Regions from separate parts of the Homo sapiens genome. Here region 2 is linked to region 1. Evidence: promoter capture Hi-C in human tissues and cell types (Jung and others, 2019). All regions are on one chromosome and are shown on one strand. The core of a region is centred on a gene start or on the middle of the fragment in contact, and the rest is flanking DNA. Distances in the headings are between cores, read along the strand shown. Region 1 holds the start of ADAMTS5 (ADAM metallopeptidase with thrombospondin type 1 motif 5). Region 2 overlaps LOC102724355 (a long non-coding RNA gene).

The links. Contacts are between HindIII fragments. The study calls those that stand out against the background at their distance.
Region 2: a contact is called between a fragment that was not itself captured here and the fragment with the promoter of ADAMTS5 in region 1, in 6 of the 25 tissues and cell types used here (H1 embryonic stem cells, dorsolateral prefrontal cortex, heart right ventricle and 3 more).

What each region holds. Positions count from the first base shown.
Region 1 is chr21:26,963,822-26,971,384 of GRCh38, forward strand. ADAMTS5 (ADAM metallopeptidase with thrombospondin type 1 motif 5) reads right to left here and starts at 3,267. Exons shown (of 8, transcript NM_007038.5): 1 at 1,467-3,267. The coding sequence starts at 2,570. LOC124905050 reads right to left here. Exons shown (of 3, transcript XM_047441063.1): 2 at 3,623-4,149; 3 at 2,835-3,263. The coding sequence ends at 2,835. The HindIII fragment of the contact is 10,779 bases long and covers 1-7,563 here.
Region 2 is chr21:27,271,870-27,279,432 of GRCh38, forward strand. The region is part of intron 1 of LOC102724355 (a long non-coding RNA gene); the gene reads right to left. Among named protein-coding and RNA genes, the nearest start is that of ADAMTS5, 310 kb to the left of the region's middle. The HindIII fragment of the contact is 8,219 bases long and covers 603-7,563 here.

The DNA.
Region 1 (7,563 bases), core at 2,017-4,516:
TTAATGAGGAAAAAAATGTTTTCCATTGTGCACAGCACTGCGCGCTGCTTGGCTCTCCCTAAACTGCCGCCCTCCAGCATCTTTGTTTACATGTGGTTTACATTAATGTCCACCCTATGAACCACAAGTGTTTCTCTACTCCAAATTTATCAACACTTTTCCTTCATACCAGGGGTGCCTTAGTAAAAATAGAAGAATTAGGTAGCGAAGCTGTGTGATTCTAAAGTCTGCAATCCATCATTTAATTTCCTATCCTTGTTCTGTTTGCTTCATTTCATACCATGATTTTACATAATACTTCAAAGTTTGTAATCCTTAATCTATTCTGGATGGGTCTCAAATACTTAAAGAATGAGCTTTAGAAGTCAATTCTTACCAGGCATTTAAGAGGCACAACTTAAAACTGCCAATCAGAGTCGAGTTGTGACAACTGAGGCTTAGAACTATGCGCAAGCCAGGCCCCAAACCAACCCAGACTTTTTGTGTAAATGTCACACTAACGTAGTGGTCAAATACTGTGTAAATAGATACTGCGTTCCTCCCTGAGCCTCTGAGCCTTAAAGATCCATTTCTTTGCTTCCCCATAACCATCTTTCTTAAAAGGGGGAAATGCTGGGAAAACATTTCTTCCTTCTGTCTTGACTCTTCGCCCAGATCTTCTGCACTGGGGCTTCGGAAACATATTCATCCAAAACCCAAACACGCAAACGGGATGTGACCCTCCCTAGGCGGCGGAGTTGGCCTGGGCAGTGCTTGCGACGCACTGGTCGACTAAGCAAAGGAGTTGTTAAGGAACCTCACAAGTTTGTCCTCTCATCTGATTGGGTCTCTGTACCCTGCTGGCCCGCCCACATTCCTTCCTTCCCAGGAACTGAGATTCCAAGGTGGACATGTAAGAACTCCATTAGGAATCCAACCTGGAAAAAGAGTCCTTGAGAAAGTTTTCTCATCCTCTGTGTAACAGAAGGGATTCTAGTAAAAAGGTGTGGACACTTACAAAAGAAGGTCATCGGATAACAGTGAGTACCGTGAGTGAACCATCCAGCCCTTTCCATTAGGTGGGACAAGGTTATATTTTATTTTCACTGGAAAGAAGAAGACCCATGATCCCAAAGGCAACTTTGTTTTCCTTCCTTTTCCCCATTTAACTGTATCATTTCCCCAAGCATCCTTGTGCCTTCTTATGTTTACGTTCCTATGCCACAACACCTCAGACTAGATGACATGCAGCACTACTGGGTCTTCATCATCACCTAAGCAAGTCTTGGCATTTAAGGCAAAAATTTCTGCGGGGCTAACGTGAATACAGGAGCAGAGTTGAAGGCTGGTTGGATTTCCTGCAAGAAGCAGTTAAACACATCCACAGCTGCAGGAGGTTTGAGGGAGAAGCAAAGCCACCAGCAAGATTCCCTTCTACCTACCTCCTGATATCAGCGCTGGGACCCCCGCATCCCGGCTGGACCTACCTCCCGAGTAAACAGGATAGCTGCATCGTAGTGCTCCTCATGGTCATCTCCCAGCTGGTTGTGTTGGTGCTGCCACTTGCAAAAGTTCTTGAGTGTGGTGGCAGCGTTCTTGCTCACTTCCAGGCTCTTGTCCTTGTCGCCTAGCACCACCACCTTCACCACGGCCAGGCGGATGTGGTTCTCGATGCTAGCATGGCTGTACAGCCTATTGGCGATGGAGGCCAGGGTCAGCAGGTAATGCTGCAGGCCCCGGCCATACAACCGCGCCATGGACGCGTCAGCCACCAGAAGCAGCTCCACCTGGCGGGCCCGGGAGATGGAGCGGCGCCGCCGCCGCCACCACGTCTGCGGTCCTGAGCCCCCAGCGGGCGAGAGAGCGGACTGGTCCAAGAGCTGCGAGGCCAGTGCTGCGCGTCCGCTCGGGTTGCTGTGCGCCGGAGCATGCTCGTGGGCCTCCGGTGTGGACGCGGGGGTTTCGCAGCTGGCGCGCGGCGGCAGGGCCTCGAAGCTGAAGCCCTCGCGGGTGTAGACGTGCAGGATCCGTGCGGACCCATCCCCGTACACGCGCCCCTTTTCTTCCTCCGCCCAGGGTCCGCGCAGCAGTGGCTTTAGGGTGTAGCGCGCGTGCTTGACCGCGAAGAAGCCGTCGAGACCCCCACAGAGGTCAAAGACAGCCAGAGAGCGGGGACTACCGTCCACTGTGCCCCGATAGAAGCAGTGGCTCCGGTGGCGCCAGGGCGCACTCGTCCCGCCTCCTGCGGGCACGAAGCCAGCAATGCCCACCGAACCATCTCGCTCCAGGTCCAAGAGGAACCTCCGGCCGCCCGCGTAGACGAGGTAGCCCACCTTGCCGCCGCCGGAGTAGAGTTGGTCGATGTTCTGCACCAGCCCCTTGCTCCTGCGCCGCTGCGCCAGGGGGTGCGGGTGGCCGGGAGGCTCGGCTCGCTCCTGCACCTCCTCCCCCTGCCGCCGGCGGGGCTGGGCGGCTGCTGCAGCAGTCGGAGGCTGCCCGGCTTTATCCTGGGCAGGTGTCGCGGCGGGGCCGACCGCGGCCAGGGGCAGGCGGAACGCGCACAGCAGCAGGGACGCCCACCCGAGCAGCATAGTGCGCTGCCCGCGGGGAGGGGCTGCGCGACTGGGACTTTATGGGTATTTGTTATTTGCTATGAAGTTAACGGGGCGGGGGATGGGGACACACACACACTTGCTTGCAGGATTGAGTCAAGTGTCGGAGGGAGGGGGGCCCGGCAGCAGCGCCAGCCTGTCCGGGCTGCGGTGCCAGCGTGCGAACTTTTCTTTGTTGCTTGGGAAAATGTTTGGATTCGTGCTCCAGAAAGAGGTGGGGTGGGGGGGGGGGGAAAGAAAAGATTAAAAAAAAAAAGTCGGATAGTGGAGATTCAGCAAATACGGGAAAAGGAAAAAAACAAAAACCAAAAAACCACCAAATGCAGGCACGATCGCTGTTTCAAGAAAAGTAAGGAAAGGTACCGCGCACCGGGCTGGCAACTGGTGCGCGCAGCCTCCCGCCCCCGCGCTGCGCTGGACAAGCCGGCTGTGGAGGTTCCAAGCTCCGGGGCCCACTTCCTTTCTTATTTTGTGGGTTTCCTTGGCTCTGCTGGGACCAGGAGGAAGGGAAGAAAGAGAGGGGAAAAAGCCGTAAAAATTAAAACAAAAATGCAGGGGGGCAGCCTGAGGCGAGCTGGTGAAGCGGCGTGTCTGTGTCCCTTCGGCTGCGGTCTCCTCCTGCCCGCCGTCATCCCCAGTCGGCAGCTGCGAGCGCCGAGAGCAGCGCGAGCGCTGTGAAGATGCGAGGAGGTGGAACAATGAATTTATAGCGGCATGCCATCCTGCAATGGCAATTTCAACAGTTCGTCACTGCACGCTGCCTCTTAAAGGGAGAGCTTCCCCCACCACTCCCACCCTTCCCAGTCCGCGCCTAATCAGATGGGGGAGGGCAAAAGAGGAGGGTGATCGAGGAAAGGGAGACGAAGTAGGAGGAAGGGACTGGGACCCGGCGAGGTGGTAGGAGGGGAGAGGGGAAAATAAAAAGTAATGGGGCAAGAAAAACAGATTTCCTTGGCCACTTTTAAAGCCACAGCGGCTCCGGGTCTGTCTGATATTTCACAACCAATTGGGGTTGGCTAACCTTGGCTTACCTCATCTCCTGAACGGGTGTTTTGGTTAAAGTTATTGAGACGTTTCAAGTCTCTCCCTGCCTCCTTCTTGCCTGCTTTTCTCGCCCTCGGTGGGAAGTTCCTGCCGCAAGTTTTTCCCCTTTGCACACCCGTGCGCTCTGGCCTCGCAGACCGTGCAACTCCATCCACCAGCCAGAGCTTTTCAGCTTCCCGTGCGTCCCCTAACCACCGCGTTCCCTTCGCTTCCTCCCCTCCGTCCCGGCACCCGGTTTCCTCCCTCCCCATTCTCCAGCCTCTTGATGCTTTGACGCTCGCCGGATTCGGGCTCCGGGTGACTAACTTCTCCCGGCCACCAGCAGAGCGGCTGGACAGCCAGAGAGCCCAGGGCGCTTCCTGGCGCGCTGCGGTACCCCGGGGCGAGAACGCCCGCCGCTTGGGAACTCCGCAGCTTTGTGTGCGAACGGCGGGCTCCCAGCTTTCTCCAGCACGCCTTTCGTCAGGGTCCACAATCTGTCCCTTACTCCCAGCCCACTGGAACTTCCTTTGCTCTAAAAAGGCAGAGCGAGAAAGAGTTAACTCTTAGAGGGAATTCCGCTCATTTTTTTTCCCTGAAAGATTTTAAAATTTTGCGCTCATACTTTTATTTTTTGCTTAAATGATACTTTAATAATAAATTCCTATATCTGTTTTTGTCTCTTCTAAAGCAACCACTTATCGCCATAGGCCTTGACCTACCTTCATTCTCAGAAATTCCTTTTAGAAGAAAAAGAATACTTTTGGCGGAAGGAAGATTGGTGCTTATTAGTACGCGGGTGACATTATCACTGCTACTCGTTTCCTCTGACCTCTTTGTTTCCTCTAATTATCATTCTAAGAAGGGAGAAGGAAAACCCGACGACTTATGGTTAGAAGGTCTACCTTCTACTGTAGGGGTAAGAGCTCCCTCCATGCCCAAATTATTCTTCAGGCTAATTAACTAATGCACCAGTGAAAAATGAATGTGGTGTAATTTGTACATTTCCATCTTTTTCTACGTTTAACTTTGGCTACGCTGGGGATAGCAGGGCGGGTGCCTTAATGGGGCCCCAAGCTGATCGCTTTCTCTGGGAGGGAACCATGAGGGTCCAGAGCTTGATGGAGGTTCTTAGAGTGGCAATAATCCTCTGGAAGGAATTTCAGAATTGCCCGGCAACAATACCCATTGCCGTGTGCCTGGGAACACCCTCTGGAGTCTTGTGAGGGGCAGATGTATCATCTTGTTTTAACTTATAAATAAAGAAATCACTGGGGCCTTAGGGACACCCAACAGCCCCTGATAGATTCTGAAATACATCAGGACCAGGGAGGAAGTTACTATTGCTGAAGGCCATTGCTTTATAATTCCACAATGCCTCAGCCTCTCAGTGGCCAGTTGACCCAGGCCAATGCTAACAGCTGGATGGGTCAGAATAGGAGGTTCCAGCCATTTTCTCTATCCCACCAAGGCCTTTGAGCCTTGCATTAGCCGTTCTCTTTTGTGGTCCTTGCTTTGCACCTACAAATAGCAAACTTTTATCTTTTTAACCAGTTACAGTGAAAAGGAGTCCAATATTTGGCACTAAACACCATTTCTAATACAACCTTGATTCAATAAATTTAACAATTTTGTCATTGTTCATGCCAAAGAATCATTTTAATAGGCATTTTAGGTGACAGTGGTTAAAATTTGTTAATTACAATTATTTTCATTCACAGATAGATTTTGTTATTTAGGATTTCAGGAAATTCCAACAGATTCTCTTTTCTTTGATGGTCTTGAACTCATAACCTCCAGGGATTCTCCCACCTGATGAGACACAGTGACGGCTTGAATTTTCTTCTTAATGAAGCTTTTCTCCTCTTTCACAAACACCGTGCTGAATCCTGAATCTGAATATTATGCCTTTAAGTTTAATTATATAGTGACATTTGTACTCAGTTTATTCAAATATTTAAAAATACATGGGGAGAACAGGATAGACACAGATAAAGTTCCAAACATGAATATCAAGCACAGAATATTTACTAGAGGTATATATTCACAAGGAAATAAATACTAAATCTTATGAATACAATGAATAAATTCTTACATCTCAGAAAATTTCTACTTCGATATAATTTTTTTTTTAGAAAGTAACTTGGACACTTTGGAAACTTCATTTGGTAGTATTTTTAAAACATTACACTAGTGGATTAGGATGAGCTGCTACGTTGTGGAAAAAATTACTATCTGTCACTCTAAGGAAGTAATTTGCACTGGATAAAAGTAGCTGAACTTTTTATTTTTACAGTAGAAAGGAAAAATATATTAGCAATCATGTTTAAGCAGAATAACTGCTACTCATTCAAAGTAACAGTTTTATTTGTGCACATTTAATGAGAAATTTCCACTGAATTTATAGAGTATATGATCACAAATACCATGATAGATGATTTTACATTTCCTAAAAGGAAGAAGGACTTACTACTCCAGAATGTTATAATTTATCTTGGAGATCAGGTAGGGCAACTTTCTCCATCTAACTGTGAAAAGCTGAGACCCAGAGGCCAAAATGGCTTGCCTGTGGATAAAAAAGTCCACTAGTGGCCGAATGTCCTGAAACCTAAATCTCCCAGCTCCTAATTTGGGCTCATTCTACAACACTTCTTACAATGTATCCAGTTTAACAAATATCTATCAAGGTCCTACTGCAAAGTGCTTTATGAGGCTCTCTGGAGGCATGAGAAGATGAACAAGTCATGAGTAATGTCTGGAGGAAACTCACAGTTTAGAGATGGAGCCGTTTGTATAATAGATGCACAGAATACAAACTGGAAAATACAAATATAGAGGGGGAGAAAGCAAGAGAATTACTCCTGCAGGTGCTCTGAGCCCTGTATTTCCAATATAGCTCCACTCCATAATTTGTATACTCTTTTAAGTAGCATTTTCTCAAATTTCCATTTGCTAAAGTGTCATTTCCTACCCCCCACCCCAAACTATGATTTTAATGGTAAGAGTGAGGAAATATCTGACAGTAAAATATTCCCTTCCGGCCAAACACCTGCTCCTTACCTCCCATGTAGAAGAATTACAGTCTTTCAACTCTGCGTTTTTCTTTCCCACATCAAGATCCCTACCCTAGGCCTGCTGAATTGGAAACCCTTTTAGTATCGGCACCCTTGGTGGTAGCAGGGTGTGTGGATTCTATGGGTAAGATCTCCACTACTAAGCTCCACTACTGCGTGGGACCATGAATGAATGCCTTAAAGACACTGGGTGAGCTTTTCCCTTTTGTGACACTCGCTTTGCAAATTCTCGTTTTTAGAGGGCTTTGCTTCAAAACCAAAGGTCACACTTTGGGAGTGATTCTAGCTTTGATATGAACTCTTCATTTTTAGAGGGTGAAACTACACTTAAATAGTCCTTCTTCCCTCCTTCCCCAGCTCTTTTTCCCCCCGTCCATCCCCTCTGATATTTACAATGGCAGAACATGGACCCTGATGCACTAATGCATGTGTACCCAATCTCATATGCATTAGTACACACAGCACATGTCAGCATGCATGTGCCACACACGTACTCACTTGAACTCATGTTTCCCTCTAGGCTGCACTGATGGCTTGATAGAAATCCTAATTAGAGCTCAGATAATAGAAGAGGGGATTAAACCAACCATCCTCTGCCTTTACGAAGAAAACTTTCTAGAGACCTGCATTGTAGAGATTCTTTTATTTTGCCCCTCGGGAAACCTTACTGAATGCCTGATAAAACTCGAAACCATCTTCTCTGCTATCTGATTAGGACATATTACAAAACAATCTATCTATTGTGATGGATAACATATGCTTTAGAATCTGTTTTACTTAATATTATAGAAAATATATTTCTAGAAAGCCAGATTTTCATTTTTTATACACAGTAATTTTATACTATATAGAAGTCTTCAAATGAATAATGTACA
Region 2 (7,563 bases), core at 3,462-5,961, 310 kb after region 1:
TTCCTAATGGCCTGTTATACAGTTTTATAGAATGTGGCTAGGACTTAGTATGATCTTGTATTTCTTTAGCTCCAGTATAGCCATGTTCTTTATCACAAGCTCAAACCAGATTTGTTAAATTTTGCCTGTTGAGTAATTGGATTCCCAGTAACATTGGGTGGAGTTCATATTATGACCATAATAATGACTTGTAATAATTTGAGCAGATGTTCTTCATATTAATTTATGGTGCATAGGTCCAATTTATTTATTTTGTTTCTAAGTGAAGGGTTCTTACTGGTTTCATATCTGCCAAAATGTGAATTCTGCCCTTAAAATAAAAAGGAACTGAATTGGTTGTCATCCCCATCGTCGTAAGGCATGCAGTTGGCGCAGTGGGTGTCACCTTTGAATTATTGTAACCAGAAATATCAGAGGATGATAAGAATAAAACAAGTGAAAATAGGCAACAGATTGTTAAGCCAAGCAGACAAGGTAAGAGTTATGGAACCCACAGTAACCAAAGAAATCTGGGAATAAGATCAATTAATCAGTGAAAGTCATCTTTAGCCAGAGAGGCCCATGAGTTGGACCTAAATCAGAAACAGGGCTAAGGTCCAGCTGGGGATTTTAATGAAATTTCTACTAAGAATGTAAGTCTCATGGTAAGATCAAAGATGATACTAGGTAGGGGAAGGGGTTTACTATTCGTGGAAGATCATAAAAAAAGAGAAACCATATGCCAACTTTCCAGGTCCCAAACCTGGATCTTTCTTTTCAGCTCAGAGAGAATGACCTAGACATACAGATAGCAAAATGCCAAGTTTTTAATTTACAAGGAATATTTGACTTACACGCAGACTATATCAGCATGGCCAGAACTTTCTCTTCCTGCAGTAAAATGTAAATGAAAAGCCAAGTTGTAACAATTGAGTTGATTAAGTACAATAGCAAATAAGACATAGAAGGGCTTGACCTCATTTGTTGTAGTAGAATGAAACTGACAATAGATCAGTATATCATCATATAGACAAGATGATATTAGATTGTGATGGGGGCTATAAGAAATAAATTGGGATAATGTGAAAGAAAGTTTACTGGGAAAGAGGATTTGCTATTTTATTTTATTTTTCCTAGAGCAGGCTTCTCTGAAGACATGTCATTTTACCCAAGACCTGAAAGATGAGGATGGTCAAGCCCTATCACAAAACAAGTGAAGATGTCCAGGCAAGGTAAAAAGCAAGTCTTATCAACAGATGCTGGGGTTTATACTGTAACTTTCAGAGCTTTGAGGGAAACTTTCTGGCACTTCATAAGTGGAAAACAACTAAATCCCTTCCTCTTTCACACCCACCATCAACATCACCACCATCACCACCCCCACTTCACCCCCAATATCAACAATATCAATAAAGTATCAAATTTTAATTTGTACCAAAGAGAATTTACTGCCTAGAGGCTTCCCCACACGGGTGTAGCAGGAGGTTTAAAGCTACCTGTTGTGCTCCACAGTTTCTAAAACACAGGATGTAAATATTCTCTAGAAGAGTTTGGTCTAAATAAGTTCTATTTAGATTAATGTTTAAGTTATTAATATTTGTTAAAGTTTAGGTTAGTCTTATTTAGGTTAATGTTTAAGTTGACTTAAAAGTAAACTTTCAAATATAATTTTAAAATAAGTATATAAAGTACGTGTAATATATAGTCAAAAATTTTTGTGTAGATAGAACAAAGAAATGTTTAAGATTGTATTAGATGTTTTAAATAAAATGGTCTGCAAGATGAGGAATATGAAGAGTGCTGAAATGAAGAAAAATAGCTAGGAGCTTTCATCATGGATAACATTTTGTCATCTTCCTGCTGTGTGACAGAGTGTTTCATTTTCATTAGCATTTTAATAGGGGAAACAATTTGTTTGTTCATAGGCTTTCAAAGTCTTGTATTTGGAGACTTTTTTTGGAGAAATGAATGATGAGATATTTTAAATACTATTATATATGAATAAATTATGAACATTTAAAAACAAAGATGAAAAACTTGGAATTTGAAATTGATGTCTTTATGATCACCTAAAGAAAAATTTATGCCAGCAATAAGATACTTCTTTAGGATTTCAGAACAGTCTTTCCCTTTGGGATTTTTTTCTTCTTATTTTACTTCTCAAGAAAACATGCCTCTAAAATACCTCTAACTTTGCATTTAAACAATGATCGAAGCTTCTTATCTTGTCTGCATGCTTTTCGGTCAAAAATTGAACCTGATTTGTAATCTAACACATTATAAAAACCTCTGATTTATTAAATATGTATGAATAGCACAAATTTCTAAAATACTGAATATATTCTAGGATGTTAATTGCCAACAATTTTAAAATTATATTAAAATGCAAAACAGCTTTTAGTAGAAACTTTTGGTGCTCTAAATATTTACTGAAGACATTTGCCATTGAATCATTAAAAAAAAGCATCTCATTGGTTTCTAGGTGAGTAGACTATATGATTGTTTAGAATTACAAAATATAAGTTCTTGAAAATGTTAAACAGAGGCTAGAAATACCTGAAAATTAAAACTTTGGGGAAAAAATATTAACATTTTTGTTAAAACACAGAAGCTTTAAATATTATTTAAAGAATTTTTATTTTATATTTAAAAATCGTTTCCTGTTTAGTGGACTACTTATCATATTTTATAACATTTTACTCACGTAAATTAAATTACTGGTGTGTTTTAGTAGAAATGACTTAGAATTTAAAGTCTGTATGTTTGGTTTATTCCAGCTGAATTAATTTCAGCTGAATTAATTTGTCTAACTGATGCAGATCTTGACATTCTTATGTAAAAATGAGGATGATGCATCAGAGGACTGCGATGCTCCCTTTGAGTTTGAAGGCCTAGGAATCTGAAACTGATGATGGTAAACAAAACTTCTGGAAAGTTGGTTGGATATGATTGGATAACATTTTGTCATCTTTCTGCTGTGTGACAGTGTTTCATTTTCATTAGCATCTTTAATAGGGGAAACAATTTGTTTATAAATATAAATGTTATTAAGTGATACTTTCAGAATAATGCTATAAGCAGTGAGAAATTTGCTAAAGCACTTTCAAATTAGGAAAAGAAGCAAAAGTAAGCTTCAACAGAAATAAAATCTACTATATCTAACTAAAACGAAACAAAAGCGAACAAAATGATCCAAAGCAGATGACAGAAAACTTCCGGAAAACATTATTGGGTATAGGAACATAGAAATAAATAAAGAACAGGTTATTTATAAATTGTAGCAAAATATTAGAAGGCAAAGGTACTGTAATTTTAGGTCACAGAGATAGTACTTAATGAATTTCAGGCCAAATTTTATAACCAATAACCTCTGTGATTCAGAGTCTTAAGTAGGTAAATTTAAGTTACATAAATAGATAATAAATAATTCTATATTTTGAGGGTTATTAATTGCAAAATTTTCAATTACCCTCATGATTTCCCCCAAACATATGGTTATAGCAGCTAACCATCACTGAGAGTTTGAAGAGATACTATGTGCCAGGAATTACATAACCATATTAGTCACTGATTCAATTCTGCAGAAACGAATGCCTGCATATGAGGTTTTTTTACTGTTGTAACTGTCATTTTTTTCAGATGAAGAAACAAGTCATGCAGGAAGTGGTGGAGACAGCATTTAGATTTAGGTTTATTTCACAGCCCTTACTGTTAAGCATTTTGTCTATAATTCCTTGTTTGTTATATTTGTGTTTTGTGATTATCTTGTATTAATGAATAGAACCAGAGTTTGTCAAGTTTGACCAAGTTTTGCAAAGCAAGATTTCATGAGTGTGTATCTGGAGTGGACTGCTCAGAAAAACCATGTTTCCCTTTGGTTTTCTATTTAGGCTCCAGAACCCACTGAAGGAACACATTTTTTCTAATGAGTAGGTCCAAAGGCTTGCTCTCTGTGCTTGTATTCTCCCTATCTGAATGTGATGGAAAAATATAGTTAACTTTTTAGTTGTTAACTCTGGGATACAGAATATTGTCTCACCCAGTGTGTTAATATTCCCAGAAGTTGTGGCATCACTGAAAAAGCACTTCTGTTAAAATGTGTTGATCTTCTTACATGTCACTCAGTATTATACTTAATTAACTCTCAAATTCACTTAGAGGCACTTGGCCAATTCAATCCAACTTTTCAGTTTATTTTTCAGTATGAAGTAATTTCAACTCATAACAATAGGTATTGAAATGAATATTTTTAGCCCTATATAATATTAAATGTGTTACTTTTACTTGTTTCAATTTTCATGAATCATAACTATGATGATTGTCACTTATTGTATAGCACAAACCAATAAGCATCATCCTTCTCTTTTGCAATGTTTGATTTTAGTCACAGATCAATTTCAGAATGTTAGGTGCAGAGGCTCATTAGAGCTCATTTGGTTCAAATTATCATTTTCAAAGATACCAGATCATGTAAATTACTCAGGTGATAATTATTTTTATTGTAATTATAATAGTAACAACATGATTATAATAGTAACAACATGTTTATCAGAAAGCTAATATTTGTTTGATTATTTGACTTACAAAGCACTTTTATATGCATTATTTCATTGAGTTTCCTATAAATTTTGTGAGTAGCAGAAGAGATGTGATTATTATTAATGTGTACCAGTGGGAAAAGACAAGTTTACTAATGTTAAGGGATTTTTCTCAGGCTCATATAAGCTATAAATAAAATAAAGTAGTTCAAATCAGAATTTCTGCTCCTTTCACCTTATAGTAACACCTTGTTTTTATTTTTTGAATGATTATCAAATATTTCAGTATTCCAAAATGAATAAAGAACCTAGAGTGAACATCATACATTCAGGATCCTCCTCAAGAAAGAAAATATGACTGAAACCATTGATGGCCTCAACATATTCTTCTACAATTGATTTGTTCATTATCTTTTAATGGACATTTTGCTCTGAGTGAGAAAGAGAGAGAGGCCGGGAGGGGGGAAGGGCACAGAATTGTATAGGGTATGCACATTTACAATTTTATTTGATTCACCAACTTGCTCTCAAACAGGGTTGAACCAATTGTTGCTCTCAAGCATGCATAAGATATTCTGTTACTCTTTGCAATCAGCCACATTTACAGTAGTGTATAGTAGTGCATGTGCCGGTGTAGTGTGTGTGTGAGCGCATGGGAGCGAGCGAGCGAGCGAGAGAGACAGAGAGAGAGAGGGAGGGGGGAGAAGTAGAGAGAGAGAGTTTTAATTTGGCCATTTTTATGGAGAGAGAGAGAGAGGGAGGGAGGGAGAGGGGAGAAGTAGAGAGAGAATTTTAATTGGGCCAAGTTTATGGAGGTATGAAATGATTATTTTTTTCTTATGGTTTTTAGTTACATGTCTCTTATTACTGCTGAAGTTAGCACACTTTCAGATAAACATGCAGAAACACACCCACCATTTGGATGTCTTCCCTAGGAATTGCCTGTACATAAACCTTGACCTCTCTGCTTGGATAGCTGACTTTTTATCTTGTTGATTCATAGGAGTTATTTACATACTTTGGATAAGAATTCTTGCAGATTATGTTATTTTTCCCAGAGCTTGGTTTTTTATTTTCACATACATACTGCCTGTTTTAATGAGAAGAAATTTTAAAAGTATCTACTTTTTATCCTTATCTTTCCTGTTTTAGCTATTTATATCTTGTTTAATAAACATTTCTTTTCCCTGAGGCAACAGAGACATTCAGACACATTTAAAAATTTTTACATTTTCAGTATTCACTTTTAGGTCCAACGTACCTTGAATTCATTTGTGTGTGTGTGTGTGTGTGTGTGTGTGTGTATCCTGTAGGTATGGATCTAACTTAATTTATCACAGGAATAACTGTCCCAGCTCCATTTAATGGCTACTGTGCCCTTTTCTACTGACCTGGTGCCTCTGTCACATGTTGAGTTTCCAACTGATTCAGCACTCTGTATTTCAGCTCTTCACTGTGTGGCCTTAGATTTGTCGCCTGTGGATTACTATTTAAATGTTCATTGTTTTACCTTTAAATAAAATTTCTTTTAGAACAGGGTAATTCCTTCTCTTTTTTGGCTCCTCCTTGCTCCTTCCACTTTCCTTCCCTCCTCCTCACACTTCTCTTTGTCTTATGAAATTATCTTGCCAATTTTTTGAACGTTTGCCCATCCAGTCAAGTAACAAAGACTTAGATACATTCATGGAGAAGTGACCTTGTTGAAAATTGAGAAATGGCTGCTTTCTCAATTTCTGCAAGTCTTTAAAAGTGTCTTTCAAGAATTATATATCATTTTTACCCTACAACTAATAAAGAAATGACAATTTTATTATTATTATGGATCCAGTATATCCTTAATAATTATTTTTAGTATAAAATCTGTTTTATTACATCAATATAGTTTGAATATTTTCTTTCAGTTACTATTCACTTGAGGTCTTCCTTATAAATAACATTTATTAATATATAGAGTCTTTTTTTTTTTTTGAGACAGTCTTGCCCTGTCACCCAGGCTGAAGTGCAATGGCACAATCTCAGCTCACTGCAACCTCCACCTCCTGGGCTCAAGTGATTCTCCTGCCTCAGCCTCCCAAGTAAGCTGGGATTACAGGCACACACCACCATGCCCAGCTAAATTTTTTTGTATTTTTAGTAGAGACAGGGTTTCATCATGTTGGTCAGGCTGGTCTCGATCTCCTGACCTCAAATGATCCCGCCCACTTCAGCCTCCCAAAGTGCTGAGATTACAGGTGTAAGCCACCGCGCCTGGCCTAGAGTCATTTTTTAATCCAACTAAATTATATTTGTTTGTATAACCAGTGAGCTTATCTTATTTTATTTCAATCAAAAATATATTTGTTTTTGTCTCTACATATTTTGTTCTTCCTACTTATTTGTCTTTTGGCCTGACTTAATTGTTCCTCTTTTCCTGTTTTCTTTGCAAGTAAAACATGTTTTTTCTCCTTTTCTTAATTACTTTGAGCTGGTATAAGAACATACCATAAACTGGGCAACTTGTGAGAAACAGAGCTTATTTCTTCCAGTTCTGGAGGCTAGGAAGTCCAAGATTAAGATGCTAGCTGACTCTGTATCTGGTGTGGGCCCATTTCCTGGTTCATAGACGGTGCCTTCTCACTATGTCCTCACATGGTGGAAGCGCCAAGGATCTCCCTTGGGCCCCATTTATAAGGGCACTAATCGCATCATGAAGCCTCCACTTTCATGGTCTGATCACCTCCCAAAAGTCCCCACTTCCTAATATTATCATCTTGGGGTTCATATTTTAACATATACATTTAGGGGAGACACAAACATTTAGACTACAGCACCTCTGTGTTCAACTGTTTACTGACATTTTAACATTCTTTCTTAAGGAATCTAAAGTAAATCTAATATTTTTCTAACTTCTTTAAGAACAATCCCCAAGCACATATTGGGGGAATACATTATTTATATAATTTAATTATTCCTTTTTGTACAATGAATCCTTCTATCTAGTAATTAATTTAGATTTATTTATATGTATATCAATTTCTTTGCCCATCATTTCTTCTAGTCTCTCAGT